3 separate regions of the Homo sapiens genome follow, and regions 1 and 3 are each linked to region 2. The links are contacts of gene promoters, found by promoter capture Hi-C in blood cells and fetal thymus (Javierre and others, 2016). All regions are on one chromosome and are shown on one strand. The core of a region is centred on a gene start or on the middle of the fragment in contact, and the rest is flanking DNA. Distances in the headings are between cores, read along the strand shown.

Region 1 (2,700 bases), core at 1-2,500, 730 kb before region 2:
CGCAGTTCTGCATTCTGTCGGGCGGTGGTGAGTCAAAGGCTGGGTTCAGCGCCGGGTGGGGCTGAGTGGCAGCAGGGCCCCGGGAGCTGCGAGGAGGCCGGGCCCACGGGCGGACGCTGACGCGGGGAGGAGGCCGAGTGCCGGGCTCCGGGCCGCTTGTCGCTGCATCTGGAGTCTGGCGCCCTGGCCGCCCGGCCCGAGGCCGCCCCTCCGCTCCGGCGACACCGAGCCCGCCATCGCGGCTGCGGAGCCCTGGCACGGAGATGGAGCGCTTGGGGGCTGGGCCGGGGAGGCGGAACTGGAGCGCGATGTCATCCTTCGGTCCCTCGTTGCCGGCTGACCTGAACTGATGTCTACTCTGTTGACGTTTCGTCCCTAAGCTTTGTGTTTTCTGGCTGACCAGCCGTGAGGTTTTCATGAGCAGCTTATTGGCCTGGTGTAGACCCGCCGTGTTAACCACACAAAATAAGGTTTTCTTGTCCCGGGATAACGTGTTTCTCTAATTGTACGATCCTTAAATTTAGAGCAATCGCAGGCGCTGGCTCAGTCAATAAAGGATCCGGGCCCAACACGCACATTCACAGTAGTTCCCAGGGCAGCAGGTACTAGACGTTTTCTATTCTAGTAAATACATGTAGTTATCTCTAGTAGTTTCTCTTTGTTTTTATAAAAATTCCCTTTAGTATACGAAGTCACTTTCCATTTTTGAATATTTATTGTATTTTAGATTATGTGAATTAAGGGTAGATACACAGCCATTTTCAGTAGATAGTCTTCGTATTTATACCTTTTGACGTTTCTGCCTCCTCTCTTTTTCCAATCCCACGCTCATTTGTCACCTTATTTCTATTATTTTTCCACTTCATCCATCAAAATAACCTTCAGTCCGTGCTTCTTTCCCTTCAGCAAATTTCCTCTACTGCTAAAACCCTGTTCCTGATGTTGGAATATTAAAGGCTCCCTCAGGACTGTGGAAATGGAAGGATTACAGCGGGACTGATGGAGACTTGAAATCTAGATCTGGTTTTGCTACTGGGATCTTGAACAAATTATTTATCCTCTTTGGACCTTGGTCCTCATCTTTAAAGCGGTGGGGTTGGTCTGACGACCTAAAGTCATTTCTGCTTTGTGATTCTAAGTGTCCACCTTCCAGCCACATAGTCACGGGATCAAAAAGAGTATTTTGTAGAATTGTTCCTTAATACAGTGAGTAAAGTAGGACCAGTTTTAAACAAGCATTAGTGTGTTTTGCTAGGTGGAGGCTCTGACTATAATTTCATCACTTTAAAGTGACATTACTTCAGTGAATTGAAACTGGCAGAGATATTTTACTGATTCTTATTTGGATGTAAAAAACAGCAGTGCACTTGAATTTTAAACTCAGATTACTTTTTAGAGAAAGCACAAGAGTTCTTAACTCTTGCAGGCTTTTGAAAGCCCTTCTTTTCAGGAATACTTGCAATTTTGATCCTTTCAGTTGGTAAAAATACATTGCACACTCATTAGGTTGGTTGGAAATAAGTTGCAGCTTACTGAAGATGTTATTAAAGTAGAGAACTGTTTTGAACTTTGGTAGCGTAAAACTGTAAATATTATATTAGCAAATGTGGCTTATCGAAGTACCAGTGTGAAATAATGACATTTTAAAGTTGATGCCCTGAGGATGTCAGTGGCTTCATTTCTGAATTAGTGAATTCAGATGAAAAGAACACGGGATTGGAAATGGAGAGATTTGGGTTCTAGTTCCAGTTTTGCCACAGACTTCCTCTGTGATTTTGCAAAACCCTACTGTAAGTTTTTTTTCAACTTACAAAATGATAGTCTTTTTTTTAAGCCCTTAATGTATACCCAGAATTTTCTATACATTATTTGTATATGAGCACCTTTAGTTTTCACGGCCACGTGGGAGGCAGGAATGAAGTAATGTTTTACAAGTGTGGTGCTCACCAGGTCCCACAGCTGGCCGTGGGCAGAATTCTGCTTTAATTGCAGGTGTCTCTGACTCCAGTCCCATGCTTCTTCCCTTCCAGTGCAGTGTCTACTTGCTAATGATCACGTCTCTTAACCTTAGAAGATTGTTCTCTGTTATTCGAATCAGTATTATAGGAGAATAAGCTTCTCTCTTGCCTCTCACAGAAAGTACTGAAATCCCACCTTATGTGATGAAGTGTCCGAGCAATGGTTTGTGTAGCAGGCTTCCTGCAGACTGTATAGACTGCACAACAAATTTCTCCTGTACCTATGGGAAGCCTGTCACTTTTGACTGTGCAGTGAAACCATCTGTTACCTGTGTTGTAAGTACTGCAGCTTACTTATTCTAAATAAATTCATTGTAAACTTTAAGTTAGAAGAACAATTCAGACTTGATTATTGGGAAGAAATTCTGAAGAATTTTTATATTCTTTTATGATTTCCCTTTTGAGTATGTAAGCAGAAATAAATTAAAAAACCCAATAGACCTTTCCATATCAGCTCACTACTGTTTTAGTTATAATGATAACTGTCAAGCCAGTTGATGTCTGCTGGAAATGCACTTGACAGAAATGTTGCTTTGTAGGACTGGAGAAGATCTCAGTCTACTAGCATATCTGAAGCAAGTCTAATTCGTTCAGATGGATTCTGTGTTCTCAATAGTGACAGCTAGTGTACAGAGGGGGTGGCAGTGTCTTTCTGCCATAGATGAGCTTTTGAAGGGCCAGT
Region 2 (2,700 bases), core at 200-2,699:
CCATAAAGAGGACTGATATGGTCTGATTTACCCATTTAAACACACAGACACACACAGACGCACGCTGCTATATAGAGAATGGAGGAAGGGGGAACTGAAATCCTACAGTAAAGAGATGCTGGTACCCTGGACAAGGGGCAGGGTGGGGGGTGGGGGCATAAGAAAAAGGGGACAGATCAGGACACATTTTAGACATAGATTCAACAGACTGAATGTTTTTTATCTGAGGATCCGAGTTGACTGCGAGGTCACTGCCAGAGACATCGACTTTTGGGAGAGGGAAAGGTTTGGCTGACCGCAAAACCTCCTTTAGGAACAAATTAGGTGTGAGGTTAGTTTGTTATATTATTTTCTCTTTCAGGACATAGGCAAAGATGAAGAGAATCAAATCATAAAAGGCGTTTAATGTTAACATTTTCCAAAATTGTGCATGTTCTAGCTATCCCTTTAATGTCTGGGCATTTTGATACCCTGTGAGTGGCTGGCAAACTCTATCATTAGTGTACACGGTGAGAGGTTTGCTGAAAGCTATATGCCCCCGTTTCTCTACCTGTTGCAGGGGAAGTGTTCGTGGGAGAAAAACTTCGCGGCCTCATACTGTGAAGGGGTAGGTTGAGATGGCCACGGGGGTTCTCAGATTCTCCACCAGCGTCTCCTCGCTGACCCCGGCCTTCCTAGGCTTCCTTCCCGCGTCCCTGCCTGCCAGGAAGGTCCCCTGTAGCTTGCAGAGACCATGGTAGACAGAGCAGTTGTATCTGCGCCAGCCAGAGACCACCTGGGCAAGAAGCGTGACCCAGACATCGAGGAGGGTGAAGCCTCGCTGGGCCGCCCCGCAACCCCAGGAAGCCCCGGACCAGCGAGAGGCTCCCGGGCGGTCTCTTGCCGACACCCCGGCACGGGCTCACCCGCGCGCTCACACTCCGCCCGCTCCCCGCTAAGGGACTGGGTTCGCTCCAAAGGCAGAGGAAACCTATGGGCTCCCCGGCTCGTGTCTCCCGACTCGTGTCTCTTGCCTCCGCTTCCCAGCTTTCCCGACCCTGCCCGGACGGGGTTTCGGGGTTCCCTGCTCGGGCCCCGCGCGCTCCCCTCCCACAGGCTGGCTGGGCTCCGGGCGCGGCGGGAGGCAGCGGGGACGTGAGACCGGGGTCGCCCCACACGCCCTCCGCGCCCCTCGGGCCGCGGCCCCTGCGCAACGGCCCCCCGTGCCCGACCACGCGGCCGCCCGGAGCGCAGGGGCCCGCGGGCAGGCAGAGGCCGAGGCTCCCCGCGGGCGCCGGGCGCGGGCTCTGGGTTCCCCGGGCGGGGCCGGGAGGCAGCCAGGCCGCCGGGGGGCGCCGGCAGGAGCGGCGCTTACCTGAGGCGGCGGCGGGGCCGGGTGCGGGCGCTCCGGGACGCGGGGCCGGGCGGACACACTGGCGGGGCCGGGGCCTGGCCGTCCCACCGCCGTCTGCCCCCCGCGCCGGGGCCGGGCCCAGACGCACTTCCTCAATCCTGAGGCGGGCGGGCGGGGAGGGCGGCGCGAAGAGCGCGCAGAGCAAGGCCGCCGCCAGCTCTCCCAGGAACCGTCGCGAGGCGTCCCCTCGGCGGCCGCCTCAGTTTCCCTGGCCGTAAAACGCGGGCGATGGCGCTCGATGCCCCGGGAGACGCCGGGGTCCGCGGGCCCTTCCGGCACCGGGTCCTCCTTCAGGTTCGGGCACCCGGCTGCCTCCACGCGGGGCGAGCGCGGCGATGGGATCGGTCCGTGCTGCGCTCAGCCCCGCTTTCGCTATCCCTCTGCTCCAGGGGCAGCAAAATCAGCAGATGAGCCCCCAGCGCGCCTGCGGCCCACACACTGCGGCCGTAACAGTTAAACAGACGGGGAACATTCATGTGCGTAGAGCTCTTCACGGGGCGATACAGAAATGTGTCGTTCTAAAGCGTTAACGACCTGCAATTTGCATATCCTCCAACACATGGATTTTACTGATTCAATTATGGATGTGTGCAAAGAATCTGCTGCTCGGTGAGTCATTGTTAATTGTCGGCTTTGGGGGGAATACATAAAACGTGGAATATTGGCAATTTATCGTGTTTCGACCTTTTATAAAGGCGTCACCAGGCTGCTGAGGCTAATACAGAAACGCAGACCATAAAAAAGATCTGCGTCCACGCTGCAGGCGGGCCTCACGCTGAGCTCCCCGTGTCGACCCGGGGACAAAGCCTGCTCAGGAAGAGCAGAGGGTTCCACGCCCTGCAGGACCAGCGCCCTGGGCCCCTCTCCTGGAAAGTTATGACTCGCACGTTCCCAGGATTTAGCGCACATCTCCCCCACCCTCACTGCCATTTCACAGAACCGGGGCAGCCGCAGGGCTCCTGCAGGACCTCCCGGACGCCGCGGGGCCGTGTTCCCTTGAGCGGCTTCTTGGGTCCCTGGTTGGAGAGGGGACCACCGAGCAGCTTCGCTCTGCTCCTGGGAGGCTACTTCTGCCACTGGACGACTTTCCAAAAGGGTGAGCGCAGTTCTGCAATCCTGTTCTCACCCCTGAGGGCCTCACACCAGTTTGCAGGAGCCAGCAGTGTGATTGCCACCGACAAGTTCCCAACAATTTGCAGGGCGTGGTGTCCTCAGTGCTGAGAGAGCCCCGCGACGGCGGTGCAGCTCCTCCAGGGCGCGCAGCCCCGCCACCTGGCGCCACCGCGAGGGAGCGCAGGCCCAGGGCC
Region 3 (2,700 bases), core at 1-2,500, 990 kb after region 2:
GCCCAGGCTGAAGGCCCTGAACGGCAGAGGAGACCGGGGCTACGGGGTCACGTCATGGAGCAGAAGGCCTGTGCACCAGAACGCACCATGAGGCCACCATCTGGGGGTCCACAGGGGCAGCTGAACCTCATCATGCCTAGGGTTTCTGGTCACCTCCTACCTATGCAGAGCTGTGGACAATAAGCTGGACCAGCAGTTACCACCCGAAAAGCAAGAGGAGAGCTCACCACAGTCATGCCTTGCCAGCCCCTCTTCCTGACCCCAACATTAGAACAGCAAGTGCCAAGAAGCAGGAGAGTCATGTGCAACTGCCCCTACCCCACTCTCCATCTATGGAAACACTAGGTTTAGCCTGCACTAGGTGGAGAAGGGAAGAGAGATTGACGTTTCAAAATGAGCTATCAGGGGACTTCTATTTACAGCAATATGAGAAACTAGGTAACCTGAAAGGCAACACCCACCGCAATATGCTCAGAATTGCTTGGTGCAATAGAACAGACTCTAAATGCAGAGTTCAACAGAAAGTAAAGGCCAAAAGATGAACTGGGAACCAACAATTAGGTATACAACTTCATGATCTCCCCACCCACCAGGGCTGGCATCCTCTCACTAACTCAGGGGCTTGGATTGTTTTGTTTTGCTTTTCGAGACAGAGTCTCACTCTGCCACCCAGGTTGGAGTGCAGTGGCACAATCTCAGCTCACTGCAACCTCCACCTCCCGGGTTCAAGTGATTCTCATGCTTCAGCCTCCCGAGTAGCTGGGATTACAGATGTGCATCACTATGCCTGGCTAGTTTTTATATTTATTTTTAGTAGAAATGGGGTTTTGCCATGTTGACCAGGCTGGTCTTGAACTCCTGGCCTCATGTGATCCACCCAACTTGGCCTCCCAAAGTGCCAGGATTACAGGCGTGTGCCACCATCCCTGGCCTAGGGACTTGGGTTTTAATGCTGTGAGGAATTGGAGAGGAAGCCTTGGACCTGCCCCACAACACTCATAAATGAGGGGTCCTTCAAGGGCAGGATGCACTCTCAGTAATCATCATCTAGAGAAAGTTCCCCCACTGGCAGTTATGTCAGGGATATTAGACCTGGCCTGGGCTCTGAGTAGGGAAAATGATTCTCCTATCAATTTGTCATCACAGGCCCATACTCATGTGATGGGATTAGGCTGTATATGACATGCATGGGCCAGAAAATCCCCAGGTCAAAACATTGGTATGCAAAGCAGTCCTGGGCTGGTGATAACGCCAAGCACCTGGCTGAAGCAAACCCAAAAGCACTCTGGAGGCACCCACTCTCATGTAAGGTACAGAAGATTCCAATAGATGAAGTCCCCATTAAGACCAGCTCACAATCCCAAATTACAAAACACTGGCAACTCCAAGTCAATAAACTTCAGGGATGGAAAGCCAGTAGAATGATCAAAACAGAGCCTACAAGATAAATTGGCTTAAAATTACTAAAGACCTAAAATGAGAAATAAAAACAGAAAAAAAGAATCAAGATACATGAAAAAATAGGTAAATTTTAAAAAGTATTTCCAGAAAGTAAAATTTTAAAAATATAATTACTGAAATAATAGAAATACCTCTGCAGATGGGTTACCGCTGATTCTCAAAGTTTATCACACCTGAGGATCCCCTGGAGGGCTTCTTAAACACAGACTGCAGGGCCACCTCCAGAGTTTCTGGGGCAGGGCCTGAGAATTTGCATTTATAAGAAGTACCCAGGTGAAGCTGCACTGATGATCTGGGGACAACGGGTTAGCTGATTAACTCTGGCCAAAGACAAAATTCTGACTGACCAAAAGTAGTTGACAAGTTAGTGAATAAAGTTGGGTTATTTTAATAGGTCTTCTATCCAGGGGAAAGGAGTTTCAATCAGCACACAGTTGAAAGCAGTAACTGAGAAAAATAAAACCATGTCCACGTGCATGTTTCAAATACACTGTCAGGATTTTCAATAGTCTAAGTAGTCTGTATCTTGTCCAAGGTTACAAGAGACAAAGAACATTATATATTGAGAAGAGATTCAATACAGCAAGAATAAGTAGTTATAAACATTTAGCACTTAACAGAATATGCAAAGCAGAAAGGGAGCGAATTGGAGGGAAAAGTAGTTCTACAATAATCGTCGGAGACCTCAGTCCCCCACTTTCAATAATGGAAAGAACAACCAGACAGAAGATAAGAAAGGAAATGAGAGGACTTGAACAACACAGCAAGCCAAGTGGACCTAACACACACCACCAGGCCCCCAGTGCATTTCAGCTGAGGCCTCTGGACACGAGGCCCACGACAGGTGTCTTAGTGGGCCCACGACTGCTGTGACAAATTACCACAAACTTGCTGGCTTCCAACAACACACGTTTATGATCTTACAGTCCTGGAGGTCGAAAGAGTAAAAAGAGGTCTCACTGAGCTGAAATGAAGCTGCTGGCAGGGCTGCGTTTCTTTCCGGAGGTTCGTTGGGAGAACCTAGTCCCTTACCTTTTCCAGCTGCTAGGCAGAGGCCGCCCTGTTCCGTGGCCCGTCCTCCATCCCCAAAGCCAGAAAAACCGGGCTGAGACCTCCTGGTGCTGTCGGCCTTCTCTGTTCTCTGTTCTCTCTCTTTCTTTCTCTCGCCTCTCTTCCTTATAAGGACAGGTGATTGCATTGGGCCCACCTGGGTGACCCAGGCTAATCTCCTTACCCATT

The links. The method cuts DNA at HindIII sites, captures the fragments that hold promoters and counts their contacts. A CHiCAGO score of 5 or more calls a contact.
Region 1: a fragment that was not itself captured here is called in contact with the fragment with the promoter of LRRK1 in region 2 in 5 of 17 cell types (M0 macrophages, monocytes, total B cells and 2 more); the score reaches 6.5 in M0 macrophages.
Region 3: a fragment that was not itself captured here is called in contact with the fragment with the promoter of LRRK1 in region 2 in 2 of 17 cell types (naive B cells and total B cells); the score reaches 9.0 in naive B cells.

What each region holds. Positions count from the first base shown.
Region 1 is chr15:101,649,598-101,652,297 of GRCh38, reverse strand. It overlaps TM2D3 (TM2 domain containing 3), which reads left to right. Exons shown (of 6, transcript NM_078474.3): 1 at 1-27; 2 at 525-602; 3 at 2,137-2,294. Among named protein-coding and RNA genes, the nearest start is that of TM2D3, 1.4 kb to the left of the region's middle. RefSeq lists a silencer at 1-329. The HindIII fragment of the contact is 1,735 bases long and covers 383-2,117 here.
Region 2 is chr15:100,918,106-100,920,805 of GRCh38, reverse strand. LRRK1 (leucine rich repeat kinase 1) reads right to left here and starts at 1,449. Exons shown (of 34, transcript NM_024652.6): 1 at 1,355-1,449. ALDH1A3-AS1 (ALDH1A3 antisense RNA 1) reads left to right here and starts at 1,523. Exons shown (of 2, transcript NR_135827.1): 1 at 1,523-2,002. RefSeq lists enhancers at 407-998, 2,173-2,292, 2,343-2,432, 2,185-2,700 and silencers at 1,213-1,802, 2,563-2,700. The HindIII fragment of the contact is 4,524 bases long and covers 1-2,700 here.
Region 3 is chr15:99,929,310-99,932,009 of GRCh38, reverse strand. No RefSeq gene overlaps it. Among named protein-coding and RNA genes, the nearest start is that of LYSMD4, 200 kb to the right of the region's middle. The HindIII fragment of the contact is 9,202 bases long and covers 1-2,700 here.